Regions from separate parts of the Homo sapiens genome. Here region 1 is linked to region 2. Evidence: promoter capture Hi-C in human tissues and cell types (Jung and others, 2019). All regions are on one chromosome and are shown on one strand. Each heading gives the region's core, a stretch centred on a gene start or on the middle of the fragment in contact. The rest is flanking DNA. Distances are from core to core; before and after follow the strand shown.

Region 1 (5,413 bases), core at 2,326-4,825, 600 kb before region 2:
CCACTGAATTGTACATTTGAAAATGGTAAATTTTATATGTAAATTATATCTCAATTTTTTTTAGGATACAAGTTAGGGGATAGGGCATGAAGCAGCTGCATATGTGAAAACACTGTACAAAGTGAGAGAAAGCCAAAGATCCAGCTCCGTCTTTGCCATCACTTAGTCAAGTCACTCCACATCTTGGGGCCACAGTTTTCTTATCTCTAACTGAAGAAATAGGCCAAATGACTTCTGAAGTCCCTTCTGAAGTTTTAGATTGTGCTTCTAATTTTGACTATTAATTACCAAGTACAAAAAACATACAAGTCTAATAAATGCAAAAAGCTAGAGCACCCTAAGATAAGAATGAAGAAAGTGGGAATTAGACTTGGAAGGCCAGAGAAGAAAGGGCAAATAAATCATGCCAAGGTTAGAACAGCGTAAGAAGGATATGAGAGACAAACTTTTAATAATGAGAAGTATACTAGGTGAGGCAAAGGAAGCTAGGCTAAGGATATTTGATCAGATAAGCAATAATAAACTACAGTAACTTTTTTTTTTTTTTTTTGAAACAGAGTCTCGCTCTGTCACCAGGCTGGAGTGCAATGGCACAGTCTCGGCTGACTCCAACCTCTGATTCCCTGGTTCAAGCGATTCTCCTGCCTCAGCCTCCCGAGTAGCTGGGATTACAGGCATGTGCCACCACGCCCAGCTAATTTTTGTATTTTTAGTAGAGACGGGGTTTCTCCATGTTGGCCAGGATGGTCTCGATCTCATGACCGCATGGTCTGCCTGCCTCAGCCTCTCAAAGTGCTGAGATTACAGAAGTGAGCCACCATGCCTGGCCTACAGTAACTCTTAAGGAGAGAGATTACCTACTCGATGGAAGCTCTATTTGAAGAAGATGAGTATGGCAAGATAAACTGGAATGAATATGGCAAAAGGAAAAAGACTAGAGGGAAGAAGATCAACTAAGCAGTTATAAGCAGTTAGTGCGTAGATCTTGGGGGGGGGGGGGTGTGTGTGTGTGTGTGTGTGTGTGTGTGTTTTGAGACAGGATGTTGCTCTGTCTCCCAGGCTGGAGTGCAAATGGCGTGATCTTGGCTCTCTGCAACCTCTGCCTCTCAGGCTCAAGCAATTCTTGTGCCTCAGACTCCCGAGTAGCTGGCTACAGGCATGCGCACCACAGCACCGGGCTAACTTTTTTTGTATTTTTGTGTAGAAACAGCGTTTCGCCATGTTGGTCATGCTGGTCTCGAATTCCTGAGCTCAGGTGATCAGCCTGCCTCATCCTCCCAAAGTGCTTGGATTACAGGTGCAAGCCACTTCACCTGGCCAGATCTTGATTTATTTATTTATGCTTTTTCTTTTTTTGATACAGGGTCTCACTTTGTCAACCAGGATAGAGTACAGTGGCATGAACATGGCTCACAGCTGCCTCAACCTCTCAAGCTCCAGCGATCCTCCCTCAGCCTCCTGAGTAGCTGGGACCACAAGGATGCGCCACCACCCCTGGCTAGTTCTGTTCATTTTTTGTAGGGACAAGGCCTCACTATGTTGTCCATGACTCAAGCAATCCTTCTGCCTCAGCCTTCCAAAGTGCTGGGAGTACAGGCGTTTGAGTCACCGTGCCTGGCCAGATCTTGGTTTCTAATGCCATTATCCAATAAAAGGAATGGGGACTCCTTGGAGAAATGACTGATTCTAGGAGCCGGGCAGGAAATATGCAAGATGAGCCTGGAGCATTTTGTAGTACCACAAAGTAGGAAAGTATTAAAATACACACACACACACACACACACACACACACACACACACAATGTCAAAAGAACCAGAGGCCAACCAAAAGAGCACCTGATGGCCAAAGCTGGAACAATTTGAGCAACAAAATAAATGAAGTAATACTGGATTAAAACCCAAAGTGTAAAATAAATATCCATATCAGTATGACTCCACACTGATATAAATGATTGAACAGATGAGGAAAAATAAAGTCTCTGATGCAGAATTACAAATAATTTGTGTAGATATTTTGCCCTCAAGGAGGTAGAGTACAACTCTCCACTCCTTAGGTGTGGGCTATGCATAGTGACTTTCATCTAAAGAGTACAGTATGGAAAAGGGGGGAAAGTATCTTTACAGCAGAGAAACCTGATAAACTACCTTAAGACCAAGGTCAACATCAGTAGTGATAAGTCATATTGATAGGATGTACCCTTGATAGGAAGTAATGAGAATGATACTTTACCTCTCTGGGTCTTCCTCCCAAAAACACATTATCAAGTCTAATAATGACAAAAACATCACACAAATCCCAACTGAGGCAATCTTACAAATATCTGACCAACAACCCTCAAAACTGTCAAGATCATCAAAAACAAAGCAAGTCTGAGAAACAATCACAACCAAGAAAACTGTAAGGAGAAATGAGTACTAGACATAATGTGGTATCCTGGATGGTATTCAGGAACAGGAAAAAGACATTAGGAAAAAAACCTGAGGAAATCTGAATAAAATATGAACTTTAGTTAACAATAATGTATCAATATCAGTTTACTAATGTTAAAAATATACTATACTAATATATTAATAATAGAGGAAACTGCAGTGTGGGGTATATAGGGACTCTGTACTATCTTCACAATAAATCTGTAAATCTAAAACCGTGTGTGTGGTTTTTTTAGACTAGGTCTTGCTTTGCCCAACATGACATACTGAGGACACATCACCTCTGTATTCTTCCCAAAAATCTACTATCTAATCGTGGAAAAAAATCAGACAAACCCCGACTGGCATTTTGTAAAACACCTGGCCGATACTCTATGAACGCATCAATGCTATGAAATGCAAGGAGATACTATCACAGATTGGAGGAGACTAAGGAAGACATAACCACTAAATGCAATGTGATAGCCTAGATTGAATCCTGGTCATCCTAGGTGACAATAAATTATGACTTGTGAAAATCTGAATAGGATGAAAGTTTACCACTACCCTAACCACAATAGAAGAGAGTTCCAAATCCAATCACAGTGCTGCACATCAGTTTTGAAGTCAGCTAAACATTGAGTCTTAGCACCCTCAGTTACTAGCTTCATGACCTTAGATAAGTTACCTCTCCCAGTCTGACTTTATGATTCATAAAAGGAAAATACCACCAGCTAAGGTGTGTTATTGCTGTAAGAATATTAAGCAAAGTGCAGTAAATCTTACTTATTTCTCTCTTCCTATCTTTTCTGCTTTTTGAGCAGAACAAGACAGACTCAAAGACAAATGTTGCCATCTATTTATCATCAAAATATAGTGAACACGGCAAATATGTTTGATCCAAAATGCTTTTCTGTTGCTGCCCTTTATTGATTCAAGCTCAAATGTTAAAGAAAAAAATACATAAAGACAAAACTTTTTCAAAAAATTAAATATACAAACTAAATATACCAAATATATTCAACTCAAATATATTCACAATACTAACAGTATTGGGCTCTCAACATTTAAATTGTCAACTGAGGTATTTAAAAATCTAACAAAATGTCTATACGTGTCTTTGTAAAACAAGAAAATCCTGGAAAAAAGCTTTAGTTCTTCGGTCACTAACTACTCATATTTCTTTGTTCTACTTGTAAACCCTTGACCTCCAGAAAGCTACCCCAAAAATAAAACAACGAATAATATTAATGACAAATATCAAGGCCATACTATCACAGAGCAAGTTTGCTTCTAAGTGATTTGCAGAGCATATGGTCTTTTAATATTCTACTTGATTTTCACTACCAAAAGAAGAGATGAAGAGAATTAGAGTTGACATGGAAGAGAAAATGTACTGAGAGCCTGACAAAACAAGAATATCTAGTCTAAAACTTAACAGAGGAGAAAGATCTTAGACTGAAAATATATAACTAGTTTGGCCTGTTTTTCATCTCCACATTAACAATAACATGAATTATTTGGGAAAAAAAAGATATCTGCTTTTTTTTTTTAAAGGAGGTAGGAGAGAAGCATAAAAAAAAAAAAGGAGAAAAAGCAGCAGCTTTGGCTCCTGGAAGAAAAGATAAAAATATAGAGGCCAGGCATGATGCTCATGCCTGTAATCCCAGCACTTTGGGAGGCCAAGGAGAGTGGATCACCTGAGGTCAAGAGTTCGAGATCAGCCTGGCCAACATGGCGAAACTCCATCTCTACTAAAAATACAAAAATTAGCCAGGTGTGGTGGCACCCACTTGTAATCCCTGCTACTCAGGAGGCTGAGGCAGAAGAATCACTTGAATTCGGGAGGCGGAGGCTGCAGTGAGCTGAGATAGTGCCACTGCACTCCAGCCTGGGCAACAGAGCAAGACTCCATTTCAAAAAAAACAAAAAACAAAACAAAACACTACAAGTTTCTAGTTGAACATTAAATCCAAGAAAATGATTCACATGAAGCAACTTATAATAACCAAACAATTGCAATAAATGCTTAAAATATAGACTAGGCATATTACAACCTCTTGGTTCATCTCTTAAGATTACTTACTATGCAGAAGTAGATTTACTGTTAAAATAAGCTTAAGCTCAGGGCCCTCATTTGTACTGGCCCCTGCCAAGGCCACCAAGCTAAAAGGAAGACTGAATTATCTTTGTGCTGTCTCTATTGAAAATATTACAAAGTCATTGGTCGGGCGCGGTGGCTCACGCCTGTAATCCTAGCACTTTGGGAGGCCGAGGCGAGTGGATCATGAGGTCAGGAGATCGAGACCATCCTGGCTAACACAGTGAAACCCTGTCTCTACCAACAATACAAAAAAAAAAAATCAGCCAGACGTGGTGGCGGGCGCCTGTAATCCCAGCTACTCGGGAGGCTGAGGCAGGAGAACTGCTTGAACCCGGGAGGCGGAGGTTGCAGTAAGCCGAGATCGCACCACTGCACTCCAGCCTGGGCAACAGAGCGAGACTTTGTCTCAAAAAAAAAAAAAAAATTACAAAGTCATAATATAAAACTCTTTAGAGGAGTATGAAGCCAAAAATACAGAAAAAAATGAACTATGACACCATATCAGTTAATTAAAATGTTAAGCTATTTTTCTAAATTTTGTGATATTTGTGCTATTTTTCAGCCTTTTTTTTTTTTTTTTTTAATGACAGAGTCTTACTCTGTTGCCAAGGCTAGAACCACCTTAGCTTCCCAAGCTCAAGTGACCCTCCCACCTCAGCCTCCCGAGTAGCTGGGACCACAGGTACATGCCACCACGTCCCATTAATTTTTAAATTTTTTGTAGAGGTGTGGTATCATATGTTGCCCTGGCTAGTATGAAACTCCTGGGCTCAAGCTATCCTCCTACGTCAGCCTCCCAAAGTGCTGGGATTACAAGCATGAGCCACCATGCTCAGCCTATTTTTCAGCTTTTTAAAATATGTAACTTGTGGTTTTCTCATTCTAGATAGGTATTTGTTT
Region 2 (5,694 bases), core at 1,658-4,157:
ACATGGAAAAACCCTGTCTCTATTAAAAATACAAAAATTAGCTGGCCATGGTGGTGCACACCTGTAATCCCGCTACTCAGGAGGCTGAGACAGAAGAATCGCTTGAATCTGGGAGGCAGAGGCTGCAGTAAGCCAAGATTGCACCACTGTGCTCCAGCCTGGGCAACGGAGTGAGAATCCATCTTAAAAAAAAAAAATCAGAGAAACAGGACCTAGAAAGATAGTTGCTAAGGGTTTGGCATAGAGGGGAGTGGTAATTAGTGTTTAATGGGTATAGAGTTGCAGTTTTATAGGATGAAAAACTTAAGTATTTTAGGCCAGGCGCGGCAGCTCATACCTGTAATCCTAGCACTTTGGGAGGCCAAGGCAAGTATATCACTTGAGGGCAAGAGTTCAAGATCAGTTTGGCCAACGTGATGAAACCACAACTCTCTACTAAAAATACAAAAATTAGCTGGGCGTGGTGATGCACGCCTGCAATCCCAGCTATTTAGGGGGGCTGAGACACAAGAATCCCTCGAACCCGGGAAGTAGATAGAGGTTGCAGTGAGCTGTTATTGTGCCACTGCGTTCCAGCCTGGGTGACAGATTGAGACTCTGTCTCAAAGAAATAAAAAGTTGTACTAAGTATTTTTTCAAGCTACTCACAATAAACCAAAGTTCTAAAGATCTGTTGTTTAACAATGTTAATATACTTAACAATACAGAACTGTACACTTAAATATGTTAAGATGGCAATTTTTTTTTTTTTTTGAGACAGAGTCTCACTCTGTCGCCCAGGCTGGAGTGCAGTGGCGCGATCTCGGCTCACTGCAACCTCTGCCTCCCAGGTTCACACCATTCTCCTGCCTCAGCCTCCTGAGTAGCTGGGACTACAGGTGCCCGCCACCACGCCGGGCTAATTTCTTTTGTATTTTTAGTAGAGACAGGGTTTCACTGTGTTAGCCAGGATGGTCTCCATCTCCTGACCTCGTGATCCGCCCACCTCGGCCTCCCAAAGTGCTGGGATTATACGCGTGAGCCACCATGCCCAGCCAAGATGGCAAATTTAGTATGTTTAGTGCATATAAAACTATAATTTAAAGTAACAGTTAAAAACATAGCTGGGTGCCAGAAACTGTGCAGGCTGCTTTTGTGTTAAGTCTCTCATCTTAAGGGAAGCTGAACAGAGAAGAGGAAAACAGGTAATCCAAGTTCCCTAGTTCACTTACCCTGCAACAGGTACTCCATCATGTTAATGGTGCCCCCAGTGACAGGCATCATGGTGACTGGAGGTGCCTCCATGGTGTCTAAGTTGAAGACAACACAACTGGACTCAGAGCCCCCAGTCAGGTAAGGCACGGGATATACCTGGAAAAGAGTTCACTTGTTTATACATCAAAGTGGTGGAGAGAGACCAGATCTGTTGTGGCACTGGCCTTCAAATCAAAGATTCATTCATTCAAAAACGTTTGAGTATTTCCTTATATGGCCAGTTCCAGGAACTGATGACACAGAAATATAGAAAGGAGATCTGGTCATGGAGTTACAGCATTACCTTCTAGTCTCAAGTTCTGAAACCTCCACATTACCTGTGCAATCTTGAGAAAGTCCTATCTATAACCCCTCACCCTGGGACTCAATGTCTTCCTTATAAAATGAGGCCAGTGATTTTTTTTTTTTTTTTTTTTTGAGACGGAGTTTCACTCTTGTCGCCCAGGCTGGAGTGCAATGGCGCAATCTCTGTTCACTGCAGCCTCTGCCTCCCAGGTTCAAGCGATTCTCCTGTCTCAGCCTCCCGAGTAGCTGGGATTACAGGCGCCCGCAACCAAGCCCAGCTAATTTTTTTTGTATTTTTAGTAGAGACGGGGTTTCGTCATGTTGGCCAGGTTGGCCTCGAACTCCTGGCCTCAGGTGATACTCAGGTGATCCGGCCTCCCAAAGTGCTGGCATTACAGGTGTGAGCCACCGTGCCCGGCCAAAGGCCAGTGATTTTTAACTCCCAAGGCTATGTGGCTCAAACGAGATAATAAAGAGGCAACAAAATTCAGAAGAACTGAAAAAGTGACTTAAGGGACCTTCGTTTTATAGATGAGGATATTGAGACTTGGAGAGGGACAGAAGGATACACACAGCAAGTTGGTAGCAGAGTTTGGACCAAACTAACATCTAGGCGTTCTATCTCTCTGAAAATGCCTTCCCCCGTACGCTTTTCTTTTTTGGTGACAGGATCTCGCTCTGTAGCCCAGGCTGCAGTGCAGTGGGGAGTTCCTAGCTCACTATAACCTCGAACTCCTGGGCTCAAGCCGAGTAGCTGGGACTACTACAGGCGGGAGACCACACTGCGGCTAGCCTAAAAATGCCTTTTAAAGAGAGCCAAGGCCGGGCGCGGTGGCTCACGCCTGTAATCTCAGTACTTTGGGAGGCCGAGGCCGGCGGATCAACTGGAGGTTGGGAGTTCGAGACCAGCCTGACCAACATGAAGAAACCCCGACTCTACTAAAAATACAAAAAATTAGCCAGGCCTGGTGGCGAGCGCCTGTAATCCCAGCTCCTCAGGAGGCTGAGGCAGGAGAATCGCTTGAACCCGGAAGGCGAGGTTGCGGTGAGCCGAGATCGCGCCATTGCACTCCAGCCTGGGCAACAAGAGCGAAACTCCGTCTCAAAAAAAAAAAAAAAAAAAAAAAGAGAGAGAGAGCCAAGGGGAAGTTATTTTAAGATGATGGTATATAGGTCCTTCTAAGCCGGCATCCATAACACGTATCCAATTAAACACTAGAAGCACACCTCCTTGAGGCTGTAGTGTCTTCTCGAGAAGCCGGGAATTATATCCACCCGCGCACCTAGGAGCTTTTGAGCGACGATTAGATACCAGCACTCCGGTTACCCGAGCCCGGGAAGCCCCCAGATCGGTGCAACCAGCCAACTTCCTCCTCTTCTCACTTCCGGTCGGAAGCCGACGTCTCACAAACCTCGAAACTGCCGTTCCCAAACGTATGGGTGCCGAGAAGGCCGAAGAGCTTCATTGCGGACAGACAATCAGAGGCGCATGCGCAAAATTCCGGGCTGCTGTATGAAAGATGGCGGCCTCCTTTGGCGCTTTCCTCCGGGCGCTACCTGGATCCTTGACGTCATAGGCCATGCTCTAGGAAAATCTTTTTAGGTTTGACAACCTGGAGATGTATTTGTGTAGAAAGTCTCTTGGAACTGATAGGACTTACAGAGATTATAGTGGGTTTCAAAAGAAAAAAGAACTGAGGGGTTGGGCGCGGTGGCTCACGCCTGTAACCCCAGCACTTTGGGAGGCCGAGGCAGGCGGATCACTTGAGGTCAGGAGTTCGAGACCAGCCTGGCCAAGATGGTAAAACTCCGTCTCCATTAAAAATACAAAAATTAGCCGGGCATGGTGACGCGCGCCTGTAATCCCAGCTACTAGGGAGGCTGAGGTGGGAGAATCGCTTGAACGCGGGAGGCGGAAGTTGCAGCGAACCGAGATCGCGCCACTGCATTGTAGCCTGGGCTACAGAGAGAGACTCTGTCTCAAAAAAAAAAAAGAGTCTGGAAAAGGAGTAGGTCCAGATCCAGGAGTACTCTGCAGTGCCATACCAAAGAATACATGTGAGCTTTAAAAGAACCCTGGCTACAACATGGAGAAAAGTTTGGGAAAGGAGAGAGCCTAGAGAAAAAAGACCAGGCCGGACACGGTGGCTCAGGCCTGTAATCCCAGCACTTTGGGAGGCCAAGGCGGGCAGATGGCTTGAGTTCAGGAATTCAAGACCAGCCTGAACAACATGGTGAAACCCTGTGTCTACAAAAAATACAAAAAATTAGCTGAACGTAGTGGCTCGCACCTGCAGTCCCAGCTACTTGGGAGGCTGAGGTGGGAGGATTGCTTGAGTCCAGGAGGCAGAGGTTGCAGTGAGCTGAGATAGCGCCACTGCACTCCAGCCTGTGCAACAGAGGGAGATCCTGTCTGGAAAAAAATTAAAGAAAAACGACCAGTTAGGCGCTTTGGTACAACTCCAGCTGAGAAACAAATGTCAGAAAAAGATTTTAAAAATGTAAAAAGAGGACAGGCGCGGTGGCTCACGCCTGTAATCCCAGCACTTTGGGAGGCCGAGGGGGGTGGATCACGAGGTCAGGAGATCGAGACCATCCTGGCTAACGGTGAAACCCTGTCTCTACTAAAAATACAGAAAATTAGCTGGGCGTAGTGGCGGGCGCCTGTAGTCCCAGCTACTTGGGAGGCTGAGTCAGGAGAATGGTGTGAACCTGGGAGACAGAGCTGGCAGTGAGCCGAGATCGCACCACTGCACTTTAGCCTGGGCGACAGAGCAAGACTCCGGCTCAAAAAAAAAAGTAAAAAGAGGAAATTAGCCGGGTGTGGTGGCACACGCCTGTAGTCCCAGCTACTCAGGTGGCTCAGGTGGTCAAGAGACCAAAATTGCTTGAACCCAGGAGGCAGAGGTTGTAGTGAGCTGAAATTGCACCACTGCTCTCCAGCCTGGGCTACAGAGCAAGACTCTGTCCTCTATATATATATGGAAAATAATTCTTTAATGACTAACCAGAGGTAAAGACAGAGATGAAGGAGTCACAGATGTCTTGGGTGGCTATCGTAGCACTTTTTTTCTCTAAGCTAGGAAACACAGAGCAGTGTGGGTGAGACAGGAAAGATGAGTTCATATGTAGACCCACTGAGCATCAGGTGTCTGTGGGACACCCAAATGGCAAAGTTCAGGGGAGAGAAATGGGCTACAGATAGAGATTTCAAAACCATAGCCTCATAGATGGTAGCTAAAAGCCATGACATTGAATGAGATCATCGTGAAAGAGTGTACTAAGTAGGAAAAGAAGATTGACAAGGATTGCGTATGCCCTAGGGTTTAGGATGTGCCTCCTGATCAACCTGGTGATTCACAAGATTGGGCAGAGTGACCAGCTCTCAAGTGCTGTAATGATTAGAGGAGGCTGTGAACTTCTTTGGCCTCTCTTTTCCTATACAGACACTAATTGCAGCATAGAAAGTCCAGTGAATTACAGGTCATTTGAGGCACCATAGGGTTTACCCAGATTTTAGCTGGTATTTTAAAGAAGGGTAAATTTTTTTAAAAAGGTAGGGGAGATAGACAGAAAATGGGTAAACAATATGATAATACCTGAAGGAGGCCTGGAGATTACAGGGATGGGTTTCTCTGATAAGGATATGATGCCTAGAGCTTAGGATGGGGCCCACCCCTGTACTTTGCCACTACCCAGCTGTGCAACCATGGGCATTCACTTCCCCTCCCTGAGCCTCAGCTTCCTTTTTTTGTAAAATAGAGATAATAATAGTACTTTCAAAGGAGTTTGCCAAAATCAAATGAGATGGTTATAAAGCATTTAACATAGTGCTTGGCTTATTGTAAGCACTTAATATTTTTATTTTCTTTTATTTTTATTTAATTTTATTAATTTTTTTAGAGACGGAGTCTCACTATGTGAGACCCAGGCTGGTCTCAAACTCCTGGCCTCAAGCCATCCTCCCATCTTGACCTCGTAAAGTGCTGGGATTACAGGCATGAGCCATCATGCCTGGCGTGTAGGCATTTAATAAGCAGTAGTTATTAGCTTTTTTTTTTTTTTTTTTTGAGATGGAGTCTCGCTGTGTCGCCCGGGCTAGAGTGCAGTGGCGCAATCTCGGCTCACTCCACTTTCCGGGTTCACGCCATTCTC

What was found. The method cuts DNA at HindIII sites, captures the fragments that hold promoters and counts their contacts. A contact is called where the count stands out against the background at its distance.
Region 1: a fragment that was not itself captured here is called in contact with the fragment with the promoter of MED18 in region 2 in 1 of the 25 tissues and cell types used here (spleen).

The regions. Positions count from the first base shown.
Region 1 is chr1:28,931,055-28,936,467 of GRCh38, reverse strand. The region is part of intron 1 of EPB41 (erythrocyte membrane protein band 4.1); the gene reads right to left. All of the region lies in intron 1 of LOC124903886 (a long non-coding RNA gene), which reads left to right. Among named protein-coding and RNA genes, the nearest start is that of EPB41, 19 kb to the right of the region's middle. The HindIII fragment of the contact is 5,237 bases long and covers 957-5,413 here.
Region 2 is chr1:28,326,253-28,331,946 of GRCh38, reverse strand. MED18 (mediator complex subunit 18) reads right to left here and starts at 2,907. Exons shown (of 3, transcript NM_017638.3): 1 at 2,767-2,907; 2 at 1,212-1,350. The coding sequence starts at 1,284. RefSeq lists enhancers at 1,858-2,365, 2,366-2,873. The HindIII fragment of the contact is 33,273 bases long and covers 1-5,694 here.